Regions from separate parts of the Homo sapiens genome. Here region 2 is linked to region 1. The links are contacts of gene promoters, found by promoter capture Hi-C in blood cells and fetal thymus (Javierre and others, 2016). All regions are on one chromosome and are shown on one strand. The core of a region is centred on a gene start or on the middle of the fragment in contact, and the rest is flanking DNA. Distances in the headings are between cores, read along the strand shown. Region 1 holds the start of ABCC10 (ATP binding cassette subfamily C member 10). Region 2 holds the start of LOC124900215 (a long non-coding RNA gene).

What was found. Contacts are between HindIII fragments. The CHiCAGO score rates a contact against its expected background, and 5 or more counts as called.
Region 2: a contact is called between a fragment that was not itself captured here and the fragment with the promoter of ABCC10 in region 1, in 3 of 17 cell types (erythroblasts, fetal thymus and total CD8 T cells). The highest score is 5.9, in erythroblasts.

What each region holds. Positions count from the first base shown.
Region 1 is chr6:43,424,135-43,430,337 of GRCh38, forward strand. ABCC10 (ATP binding cassette subfamily C member 10) reads left to right here and starts at 3,407. Exons shown (of 22, transcript NM_001198934.2): 1 at 3,407-3,623; 2 at 3,834-4,005. The coding sequence starts at 3,845. It overlaps LOC105375065 (a long non-coding RNA gene), which reads left to right. Exons shown (of 6, transcript XR_007059585.1): 6 at 559-1,880. RefSeq lists enhancers at 1,361-1,882, 3,984-4,053. The HindIII fragment of the contact is 12,589 bases long and covers 3,219-6,203 here.
Region 2 is chr6:42,980,473-42,986,675 of GRCh38, forward strand. LOC124900215 (a long non-coding RNA gene) reads right to left here and starts at 3,842. Exons shown (of 2, transcript XR_007059580.1): 1 at 3,360-3,842; 2 at 70-371. PPP2R5D (protein phosphatase 2 regulatory subunit B'delta) reads left to right here and starts at 4,098. Exons shown (of 16, transcript NM_006245.4): 1 at 4,098-4,232. The coding sequence starts at 4,206. RefSeq lists silencers at 750-968, 4,147-4,216, 4,307-4,456 and an enhancer at 3,877-3,996. The HindIII fragment of the contact is 2,641 bases long and covers 1,218-3,858 here.

The sequences.
Region 1 (6,203 bases), core at 2,157-4,656:
TCCTCCCACCTCAGCCTCCTGAGTAGCAGTGACTACAGGTGGGCACTGCCATGCCCGGCTAATTTTTTATTTTTATTTTTGTAGAGATGAGGTCTTGCTATGTTGCCCAGGCTGGTCTCAAACTTCTGGCCACAAGCAATCCTCTCACCTTGGCCTCCCAAAGTGCTAGCATTAGAAGTGTGAGCCACTGTGCTTGGCCCAAGTATTATTTAGGAAATACATTCCATAAGGCTATAGCTGTCATAGACAGTGATTCCTCTGATGGATCTGGACAAAGTAAATTTAAAACCCTCTGGAAAACATTCACCACACTAGATGCCATTAGGAATATCTGTGAGCCAGGCATGTTGGCTCATGTCTGCAATTCCAGCACTTTGGGAGGCTGAGGCAGGAGGATGGCTTGAGGCCAGGAGTTTGAGACCAGCTTAAGCAACATAGTGAGACCCTGCCTCCATTAAAAAAAAAAGCGCTCTCTCTCCCCCCTCCCCCTCCCTCTCCCTCTCCCCACGGTCTCCCTCTCCCTCTCCCCACGGTCTCCCTCTCCCTCTCTTTCCACAGTCTCCCTCTGATGCCGAGCAGAAGCTGGACTGTACTGCCGCTATCTCGGCTCACTGCAACCTCCCTGCCTGATTCTCCTGCCTCAGCCTGCCGAGTGCCTGGGATTGCAGGCGCGCGCCGCCACGCCTGACTGGTTTTCATATTTTTTTTGGTGGAGACGGGGTTTCGCTGTGTTGGCCGGGCTGGTCTCCAGCTCCTAACCGTGAGTTATCTGCCAGCCTCGGCCTCCCGAGGTACCGGGAATGCAGACGGAGTCTCATTCACTCAGTGCTCAATGTTGCCCAGGCTGGAGTGCAGTGGCGTGATCTCGGCTGGCTACAACCTCCACCTCCCAGCCGCCTGCCTTGGCCTCCCAAAGTGCCGAGATTGCAGCCTCTGCCTGGCCGCCATCCCGTCTAGGAAGTGAGGAGCGTCTCTGCCCGGCCGCCCATCGTCTGAGATGTGGGGAGCGCCTCTGCCCCGCCGCCCCGTCTGGGAGATGAGGAGCGTCTCTGCCCGGCCGCCCCGTCTGAGAAGTGAGGAGCCCCTCCGCCCAGCAGCCGCCCCGTCTGAGAAGTGAGGAGCCCCTCCGCCCGGCAGCTGCCCTGTCTGGGAAGTGAGGAGCGTCTCCGCCTGGCAGCTGCCCCGTCCGGGAGGTGGGGGGCAGCCCCCGCCCGGCTAGCTGCCCCGTCCAGGAGGTGGGGGGGGGCGCCTCCGCCCGGCCAGCTGCCCTGTCCTGGAGGTGGGGGGCGCCTCTGTCCGGCCGCCCCTTCTGGGAAGTGATGAGCCCCTCTGCCCGGCCGCCACCCCATCTGGGAGGTGTACCCAACAGCTCATTGAGAACGGGCCATGATGACGATGGTGGTTTTGTCGAATAGAAAAGGGGGAAATGTGGGGAAAAGATAGAGAAATCAGATTGTTGCTGTGTCTGTGTAGAAAGAAGTAGACATAGGAGACTCCATTTTGTTCTGTACTAAGAAAAATTCTTCTGCCTTGGAATGCTGTTAATATATGACCTTACCCCCAACCCCCTGCTCTCTGAAACATGTGCTGTGTCCGCTGAGGGTTAAATGGATTAAGGGCGGTGCAAGTGCTTTGTTAAACAGATGCTTGATGGCAGCATGCTCGTTAAGAGTCATCACCACTCCCTAATCTCAAGTACCCAGGGACACAAACACTGCGGAAGGCCGCAGGGTCCTCTGCCTAGGAAAACCAGAGACCTTTGTTCACTTGTTTATCTGCTGACCTTCCCTCCACTATTGTCTTATGACCCTGCCAAATCCCCTTCTGCGAGAAACACCCAAGAATGATCAATAAAAATAAATAAATAAATAAATAAAAAACTGTGATTCATGGGATTCATGGGAGGAGGACAACGTATATCAACATTAACAGAAGTTTGGAAGAAGCTGATTCCAACCTTCACGGATGGACCTTCAAGACATCAGTGGAGGAAGTAACTGCAGATGTGATGGAAACAGCAAGTGAATTAGAATTAGAAGTGGAGCCTGGCCAGGTGCAGTGGCTCACACCTATAATCCCAGCACTTTGGGAGGCCAAGGCAAGCGCATCACCTGAGGCCAGGAGTTCAAGACCAGCCTGGGCCAGGTAGCAAGACTCTGTTAATTAATTACTAAAGATTGTGAAATGCAAACCTACATCTCTTAGTTTTTAAAAATAGGAAAATTAATTCTTGACGTTGAGGGATATGGGGCTTCTTACTGAGATTAAGTGGGATAACCATAATTGTCATTTGTTTAGCTTTTCTTCTTCAAGCACTGTACACACCTATGTAAAGGCGGATACCAACACCATGCCTGACAAACATAATAAAATAAAGATGCAGAAGTAACCTGCCCAACATCCCTCTGCTAAAAGCATTCAAACCCAGGTCCGTATAATTATAAAGGTTATGTTCTTCCCACTGCTTCCTTAAAAGATTTATTGGAGGACTACCCTAGGCAAAGCACTTGCCCTAAGCACTCTAAATTAATTATTCAACTCTCTCAACAGTACTTTAGTATTGGTATTGTCCCTGTTGTACAAATAAAGAAGTTGAGGCTCGGCCGGGGTGGTGGCTCACGCCTGTAATCCCGGCTCTTCGGAAGGCCAAGGCGGACGGATCACGAGGTCAGGAGATCGAGACCATCCTTGCCAACATGGTGAAACCCCGTCTCTACTAAAAATACGAACAAAAAAATTGGCTGGGCGTGGTTGCGCGCGCCTGTAGTCCCAGCTACTCGGGAGGCTGAGGCAGGAGAATCGCTTTAACCCGGGAGGCGGAGGTTGCAGTGAACCGAGATTGTGCCACTGCACTCCAGCCTGGTGACAGAGCGAGACTCCGTCCCCCCCCCAAAAAAAAGTTGAGGCTCAAAAAAGTTAGGTAACTTGTCCAAGGTCATGCAGCCCTAGAATAATAAGGGAAAACAGTGTGTCCCAAAATGGCATTATTTGTCCGTGGGGCAGGTATGTTTGAATTTCCATCCATCCATCTATCTATCTGAGACTGGGGTCTCGCTATGCTGCTTGGACTGTTCTCGAACTCCTGGGCTCAGGCCATCCTCCTGGGATCTACCGGCGCGCAGAGACTACGGGCGCGCAGGGACTACCGAGGCGCGCAACCGTGCCCGGCTCCCCACCTCTTCAAGAAATGGAGATTGCAATGCTTGTGCCAACTAGTAAGCTTACACAGTTGTGAGCGAATACTCCACGTGAGAGGTTATAAATGACGTTGCACTAAGGGAGGGATGGATCCTTAACGCAAGTCAGGCCACAAAAGCGTACCAAAACGCAACTGTGCGTCTGCACCAGCGCGCCTGCGTGCAAAGGCCAGCCGAAGCAGAGAGCAGTGCACATGCGTGCAGCTACCAGCATATGGGCGTGGCGAATAGCGCCGGCTAGGTCTTCCAACCTCTAGGTGGGGTGCCAGCCGGGGCGGGCCCAGCACCCCGGCCGGGCAGTACTTTTTTTTTTTTTGCATACACCAGTTCTCAGGATATCGGAATCCGGTGCACAGCAGCTTCTTCAGGTTTGAGGTTCCGGATGCCTGGGGGCGGAGAAACGGGAGGGGAAAAACAGATGGCAAGGTGGGTGACCAGCGTCCAGAAATCCACTGGGGAAACCTCCTCCCGTTTTTACCCTTGGTACCGCGAGAATGGGCGGGGTCTGGCTTCGGGGCGGAAGCGACGGGCGGTCCCGGTTCCAGGGCGGGGCTGGAGACAGGGAGACCCGGCTGGGAAGTGCAGGCAAAGCCGGCTGTTACCCTGCACAGCCGTCACCCTCAACTTTCCCTTCAGGTGAGGCGTCCATGGAACGACTTCTGGCCCAGCTGTGCGGCAGCAGCGCAGCGTGGCCGCTCCCGCTGTGGGAGGGGGACACCACAGGCCACTGCTTCACCCAGCTGGTGCTCAGCGCCCTGCCCCACGCGCTCCTCGCCGTGCTCAGTGCCTGTTACTTGGGCACCCCGAGGTGGGTAGAGACGGGCGCAAGGCATCTGTCCATGTGTGCCTGCAGATCTCACCCGCGGCCTACATCTTCCGGCAGTGTCACCAGAATAGCGAGGTCTCTGGAGTAGGGCAGAAGTAGAATAAAATCTAAGCATTGCTACTTAGCAGCAATGTGGCTGTTCTTGGGCAAGTACCTGCCTTCTCTGAGTCTCATTGTTGGGAGGTTTAAATGAGATAATGAATTTAAGCATATAGTGCAGCGCCTGGCATGTTTTTAAAGGTCCGATGAGTATCAGAAATCATCAGAATTGTCCATTTTCAGCTACCCGGACTCAGCTGTCATGAATTGGAGGCAGAATTGGGGGAACAACGTTTTTAGCCAAAAGCGATGATGTGTTTAAGTTGTAGGCTCAGTTTCTCACCACTGCAACCCATGAAACCTTAGTGTTTCCAGATTAAGAAAAGCATACCTAGGCTCAGCTGAAGAGGAAGCAGTAGATAGACAAGAAGAGCAAAATCAAACATTAAGCCTTCCCCAATTAAGGGCTATAAGGTGTGGATGCTAAACTCAACTTGATTTTGTATTTAGTTCTTGTATGGCTAGAGATGACTAAAGTTAGTCTCATTCTGGCTGCCGAGAAGATAGGAGGACGGTGTGGTCTCTGCCTTTGGGAGTTCCTAGTCTGATGGGGGGAAGTGTCTCTATCCAAGAGGTCTTTCTTGCTTTCTCATTAGACTGAGTTCCCAAAAGACTGTGCCAATTTTTAATAGCTGCTCTTCTGAGAAGGCTGTCTATGCTAGGTGATTAAACCCTTCTAGACTTTTGTCTCTGTGTAAGAAACAAATCAGGATTCCTCCCAGACCAAGCGGATACACAGCTTCTCCTATCCAAGGAAGGGATTCATCCGCCCCCTGGGAAAGCAAGAAAGACCATCATGTGATCAATAGAAATTGTGCTTCACTTCACTTATCAGCCTTGTGTGTGTTGCTGAGAAGGGTTAGAGAGATCGAGAATCTAAGACAGGAAAGGGCCTCAGAAGGCTTTAACTTGAGACTCACTGCTCACCATACTGGTGAGGAAAGTGAGATTCAGAGAGGAAAAGAGACTTGAAGGGGTGATGAGGCTGGTTGATGGCCAACTTGGGGCCAGTTTATGCCTCCAAGGGCCCAGTGTTCTTTCTTGGGTCCCCACATCTTAGGAAATATATATATTTTTTTCTTTTCCTTCTTTCTTTTCTTTCTTTCTTTTCTTTCTTGTGTGTGTGTGTGTGTGTGTGTGTGTGTGTGTGTGTGGCGGGGGGGAGGGGGGATTGTTATTGTTGTTTTGTTTTTTGAGGCAGCGTCTCCCTCTGTTGCCCAGGCTGAAGTACAGTGGTGCAATCACAGTTCACTGCAGCCTCAACCTCCTGGGCTCCAGCAACCTCTCACCTCAGCCTTTTGATTTGCTGGGGCCACAAGTGCATGCCACCACACCTGGCTAATTTTTTTAAAAATTATTTTTAATAGGCCGGGTGCAGTGGCTCAAGCCTGTAATGCCAGCACTGTAGGAGGCCAGGAGTTCGAGACCAGCCTGCCAACGTGGCAGAATGCCATCTCTACTAAAAATACAAAAAATTGGCCGGGCCCAGTGGCTCATGCCTGTAATCCCAGCACTTTGGGAGGCTGAGACAGGCAGATCACTGGAGGTCAGGAGTTTGAAACCAGCCTGGTCAACATGGTGAAACCCCATCTTGAATCGCTTGAACCCAGGAGGCAGAGGTTGTGGTGCGCCAAGATTGCACCACTGCACTCCAGCCTGGACGACAAAGCGAGACTCTGTCTCAAAAAGAAAAAATTATTTTTAGTAGAGACAAGGCCTTGCTTTGTTGTCCAGGCTGGTCTTGAACTCTTGGGCTCAAGCAATCCTTCTGCCTCAGCCTCCTAAAGTTCTGGGTTTACAAATGTGAGCCACCATGCCCAGCCAGAAATAGAAAAAAATTTTTTTTTTCTTTGAGACAGGGTCTTACTCTGTCACCCAGGCTGGAGAGCAGTGGCACGATCTCGGCCCACTGCAACCTCCACCTCTTGGGTTCAAGCGATTCTCCTGCCTTAGCCTCCAGAGTAGCTGAGACTACAGGCATGTGCCACCATGCCTGGCCAGTTTTCGTATTTTTACTAGAGATGGAGTTTCACTGTGTTACACAGGCTGGTCTTGAACTCCTGGCCTCAAGTGATCCACCT
Region 2 (6,203 bases), core at 1,288-3,787, 440 kb before region 1:
TCCTGGCTTCAAGTGAGCCACCTGCTTACGCCTCCCAAAGTGCTGGGATTACAGGCATGAGCCACTGCGCCTGGACTAATTTTTTATTTTTTGTAGAGACAGAGTTTCTCTGTGTTGCCTAGGCTGGTCTCAAACTCCTGGTCTGAAGAGATCCTCAGGCCTCAGCCTCCCAAAGTGCTGGGACTACAGGCATAAGCCATCATGTCCCACTGCATTTCCAATTATTAACAATTATTTTCACTTACAATAAATGAATTGGATGGTGCCAATCTCCATTTTCTAGACCTTACATTCTCTTTCAGCTACTGCTCAGCTTTCTCCATCTCTCCTTTCTTCTTGAGGCAGTCTTCTATTTTGTACATTATACATTCCTGAAAATTTGAAAGACAAATATATGAAAACTATTAGATTTGCATATTATAAGGGGCTGGGCGCAGTGGCTCATGGCTGTAATCCCAGCACTTTGGGAGGCCAAGTGGGTGGACTGCTTGAGGCCAGGAGTTTGAGACCAGCCTGGCCAACATGGTGAAACCCCGTCTCTACTAAAAATACAAAAATTAGCTGGGTATGGTGGTGTGTGCCTGTAGTCCCAGCTACTCGGGAGGCTGAGGCAGGAGAATGGCGTGAAGCCGGGAGACAGAGCTTGCAGTGAGCCGAGACTGCGCCACTGCACTCCAGCCTGGGTGACAGAGTGAGATTCCGTCTCAAAAAAATAAATAATAGAAAAAAATAAATAAAATAGCATGCAAGAATGTACTAACCAGGAACCATGGCTTGTGTCTATAATCCCAGCTATGGGGAGGCTGAGGCAGAAGGATCACTTGAACCCAGGAATTTGAGGCTATGATTGTGCCACTGCACTCCAAGTGGGTGACAGAGCAAGACCTTGTCTCTTAAAATATATAAAATTAAAAGAAAAAAAAACTAAATAAAGAATGTTCTAGGTACCTAGATTCACATGGATGAAAGTTCCCATTTGGTAGTGCTACTATATGTTTCTTGGTCCCCTATGTCCCAGAGGAACCAAGGGCTAGATAGATGGTACATGGGCCTAAAGAGGATATGCCTGCTTTCCTCAGTAGCAGGCAAGCTCTAGGCCTCAGGACTATAGTGCTCCTTGAGGCCTTGGAGATGGGTAAAAACATCAGTTATCTTGCCTGGATCAGCACTCATACAGACACAAATACCCACCCACAAATAAATGTCCTTTTCTCCCAAGCTTTTCTCCCAGCAGGTAACAGCGGGCATGTAGTCCACTTTGTGTTACCCTGAAATCGTCATTAGTCACCGAAAGCCAAATACTACTTCTGTAAGATCGCCAGGACCCTACATTTGCCATCTTCACTTCCTCACCTCTTGATGCTCACTCTTCCACTCACTAAAAACGGTCTTCCACTCTCTGAAAAAATCACCCATAATCTTCTAATTGCAGAATCAAGATGATGCTGTTCTTTCTCTGACACTACTGACCAATTGTCTTTTATTTCCTTTGCCATTATGACACCAGTTGTCCTCCTACAACTCTGATCACTTCCAGAAATCATCCTCAACTCTTCCCTTTCCGTTACCGTCCCCCCCACAATACAATGAATCACCATATCCTGTTGATTCTACACATTTTCATGCTCCATCCTCTCTTCTCCATCCCCACGGCCACTGTCTTGTAACATTGCTCTCCTGGGTACCTGGGTAAGGGACACAGGTTTTGTGTTTTTTTTTTTTTTTTTCAGATGGAGTCTTGCCCTGTCGCCCAGGCTGGAATGCAATGGTGCGATCTCGGCTCACTGCAAACTCCACCTCCCGGGTTCAATGGATTATCCTGCCTCAGCCTCCTGAGTAGCTGGGATTACAGGCACCCACCGTCATGCCTGGCTAATTTTTGTATTTTTGTAGAGACGGGGTTTTGCCATGTTGGCCAGGCTGGTCCTGAACTCCTGACCTCAGGTGATCCGCCCTCCTCAGTCTCCCAAAGTGCTGGGATTACAGGCGTGAGCCACTGCGCCTGACCTTTTTTTTTTTTAAGACTAAATATTTTATTTTATATAGAATTTTAAAAATTTATTTTTTGTACATGAATAAGTTCTTTAGTGGTGATTTATGAGATTTTGATGCAGCCATCACCCAAGCAGTGTATACTGTACCCAATGTGTAGTATTTTTTTTTTTTTTTGAGACGGAGTCTTGCTCTGTCGCCCAGGCTGGAGTGCAGTGGCATGATCTAGGCTCACTGCAACCTCTGCCTCCCGGGTTCACGCCATTCTCCTGCCTCAGCCTCCCGGGTAGCTGGGACTACAGGCGCCTGCCACCACGCCCGGCTATTTTTTTGTATTATTTTAGTAGAGACGGGGTTTCATCGTGTTATCCAGGATGGTCTCGATCTCCTGACCTCGTGATCCGCCCGCCTCGGCCTCCTAAAGTGCTGGGATTACGGGCGTGAGCCACCGCGCCCGGCCTCCATTGTATCATTCTCATGCCTTTGCATCACAGGTTTCTTCTTTTTTTTTTGTAGACGGAGTCTTGCTCTGTCGCCCAGGCTGGAGCGCAGTGGCATGATCTCGGCTCACTGCAACCTCCACCTACCGGGGTCAAGTAATTCTCCTGCCTCAGCCTCCTACCGGGTTCAAGTGATTCTCCTGCTTCAGTCTCCCGAGTAGCTGGGACTACAGGCGCGCGCCACCACGCCCCGCTAATTTTTGTATTTTTCATAGAGGCATGGTTTCACCATGTTGGCCGGGATGGCCTCGATCTCTTGACTCGTGATCCGCCCACCTCGGCCTCCCAAAGTGCTGGGATTACAGGCGTGAGCCACCGCACCCTGTCTAATTTTTGTATTTTTAGTAGAAATGGGGTTTCACCACTATGGTCAGGCTGGTCTCAAACTCCTGACCTCGTGATCTGCCCACTTTGGTCTCCCAAAGTGTTGGGACTACAGGCGTGAGCCACCGAGCCTGGCCACAGGTTTATTCTTTTTGTCGTCATTGTTGCTGTTTTGAGACAGAGTCTTGCTCTGTCGCCCAGGCTGGAGTGCAGTGGTGTGATCTCGGCTCACTGCAACCTCCGTCTCCCGGGTTCAAGTGATTCTCCTGCCTCAGCCTCCCGAGTAGCTGGGATTACAGGCGTGCACCACCACACCCAGCTAATTTTTGTATTTTTAATAGAGACGGGGTTTCGCCATGTTGGCCAGGCTGGTCTCGAACCTCTGACCTCAGGTGATCCTCCTGCCTCAGCCTCCCAAAGTGTTGGGATTACAGGCGTGAGACACCGTGCCTGCCTGGTTTACATTCTCTCTTAATCCTTTGTTTATACACATCTGTGATTCACCAGACTGCGAACTCTTTGTGGGCATAAACTGAGTCTTACCCATTAGAACACGGACTTGAGCAGGGTGGCAAGTAAGGGATGGATTTCCTGAGACAGTCAACAATGAAGTTGCTTTTCCACTGCGTTCCCAACTGCTCAAATCTAGCTGGTTCCCCAATCCCAGTACACTTGCAGTAGCAACGGGGACCCTCTTCCTAAAGTTGCACCAAGCCAGGGATTCTCCACTCATTTCGCCCAGGTCCTAGCCCTGCCAGGCTTCCCCTTTGCTCCTCTGCAACCCCTGTCTAGGGAGGCGGGTGTCTTGGAAGGTCCTTGGGAGCTCCCTCCATCAATTTTGCATCTGCAATTAGGGCTACTTTACCCCAGTGAAGAAAGGTGCCCTCCGTATTAGGGCTTCCTTCCTCCAATTCCGACTGGACAGGGTAGCAGAGCGGGCAAAGTGTGAGAGCCTTTAGAAGGAAAGAGCAGGGCTCCAAGCGCCGCGAAGAATGGCCGAGGCCGACGCACAGCAGACGCTGGAGTGCAGCCCTCCTAGCCAAGCTTGGGTTTCCCCTTATCCCCGCCTCCTTCTCTAAGCTCGACCCACTTTAGGGCGGGACCACCCACTTCAGCCAATTCTGGAAGCCGAACCCTGGCGGTTTGTACTATTTCTTTCCAATAAGAAAAAAAGGAAGCAGCTTGGCTCCAATGACCAATCCGAGGAGGCGGCGCCTGGTTGTCAGGCAGTTTTGTAGGAGTTCGGGCCAATTGGAGGCGCAGGCACCGCTCGACCCGGGCGCAGCGCGCAGGCGGTGGCGAAGAGACGCCGAGCGGGCCGAGTGCGGCCGAGCAAAGCCGGAGCCGGAGCGGGGCCGCAGGAGACGGGCCGGGTCCGGACGGGCCGAGATGCCCTATAAACTGAAAAAGGAGAAGGTGAGCGTGGCCCTTTTTCCCCCACCGCCGCCTTGGAGCCTGCGCGGAGCTCTGGGAGGGGCCGGAGCCAGGCCCGGGACAGCCCCAGACTGACCCTCCCGTCCAGCCCCCGCAGGACTCCTGGGGCCAGCCCTCCGCCCCCGCGGCTGGCAGCACCCCCAGCTTGTGCCGCAGCTAGGACAGCTCCCCCACCTTGCCCCGGAGAGACTCCCCCCACATACACCTCCCTCCCTTCTTCCCTTCTCTTACCCCCGGCCCAGGGTAACCTCCTTCTTCCAGATCTGCCCCATTCCCAGGTCACTGTCCTGCTTTTTCTGTCCCCCCCATCACCCCTGGCCCCGATCCCCCTTCGGTTTGGGCAGCCCCTCATCTGAAACTGCACCTTCCTCCAGAATTGCCCCCTCGCCCCGCCCTGAGCAGCCCCTTGTCTCCTCTTCCTACCCGCCTGGGACAGCCGCCCCGCAGTCCCCTACGGCCCCTTCTCTTTCCATGCCAAGCCCCTGACCTAGAACAGCGCTGCTTTCTCTCTCCTCCACCCAAATCTGGCCTAGGCCCCTCCCTCTAGTTCTTCCTTCACACACAAACTTGTAAGCAGGACTGAGCCCTTCTGTTGATGGAACCTCACAACGTTGGTGCTGGAAGGGACCTCTGAGCGCATGCAGTGCAATCCCTAATGGTACAGATGAGGAGACTGAGGCCCCGACAGGGCAAGGGACTTGTCCAAGGTCACACAGCCTGCTGGAGGCCCAGCTGCAATATCAGGTCTCCTGACTTAAAGGCCTCTTTTGTATCAAAGCCCTCCTAACTGTCACCCAAGTGCATCCTAGACCAGTCACCTTTCCTAATCTGAGTAGGCTCCTCACCCTTATTCTTAATCCTAGGATAACCTTTGCATTTTTCCTTTTTTTTTTTCTTTTCGCACCAGTGCTGGATTTCTGCCTTTCCTAAGCTACACCATCTTCAAATTGGGAATTTGTCCTCACTGTCAGATTATTGTTCCTTCTTAGCCTGCAGGCCAGCCACCCCTGAACACCCATGTCTTTATCATGATGTCCTGACACAGGCCATTTCTTTTTTTTTTTTTTTTTTTGAGATGGAATTTTGCTCTTGTTGCCCAGGCTGGAGTGCAATGGCGCGATCTCGGCTCACCACAACCTCTGCCTTCTAGCTTCAAGCGATTCTCCTGCCTCAGCCTCCCAAGTAGCTGGAATTACAGGCATGCGCCACCACATCCGGCTAATTTTGTATTTTTAGTAGAGACGGGGTTTCTCCATGTTGATCAGGCTGGTCTTGAACTCCTGACCTCAGGTGATCTGACCCCCTCGGCCTCCCAAAGTGCTGGGATTACAGGTGTGAGCCACCGTGCCTGGCCCACAGGCCAGTTCTTAATGTTGCCTTCTTTCACCTTCCTCATCTACCTCGGTGCTGCCTTCCCCTGCTCCTCATCCGTGCCTTTTTCTACCCTCTGTTTCCTGCTGTTGCTGAGGTCTGACTCAGAGGTGTGGTTCCTTTGAGGTACAGACTCACACATAGGATGCTAGGATACCAGTTCCAGCCTCCCCCAGCTTCTCCTCTCCTGGGGCTGGCCCTTTTTGGTGGGGGTTGGCTCTGGCCTGGTGTTCTGGCCACCTGCTCGATGACCCCAGAGGTATATTGCTTTCATTTGCCCTCTGATTGGCTGGGTTACTGGGCTGCCATCTCTGACCTTTTCAATCAAACTTTTTCTCCTGGGGCTGTTCTGTATTTGCCAGGCAGCTCTGATTCTGAGTTGTCCCCTTAACCTTTCAGGGCCTGAGGTTCTAAGTACAGGGTTGGTGATGGTGTACTAGATAGTGAGCCTCCTGGGAGTAGTGAGCTGGACAGGGTTTTGTGCCCCACCCAGGCCCTGTCCTTGGGGAGTGGGCATGCGGAGGTGGTTTGGGTAGCTCAGTCGTAGACAATGCACACAGAAATCAGCCACAACAGGGGCTA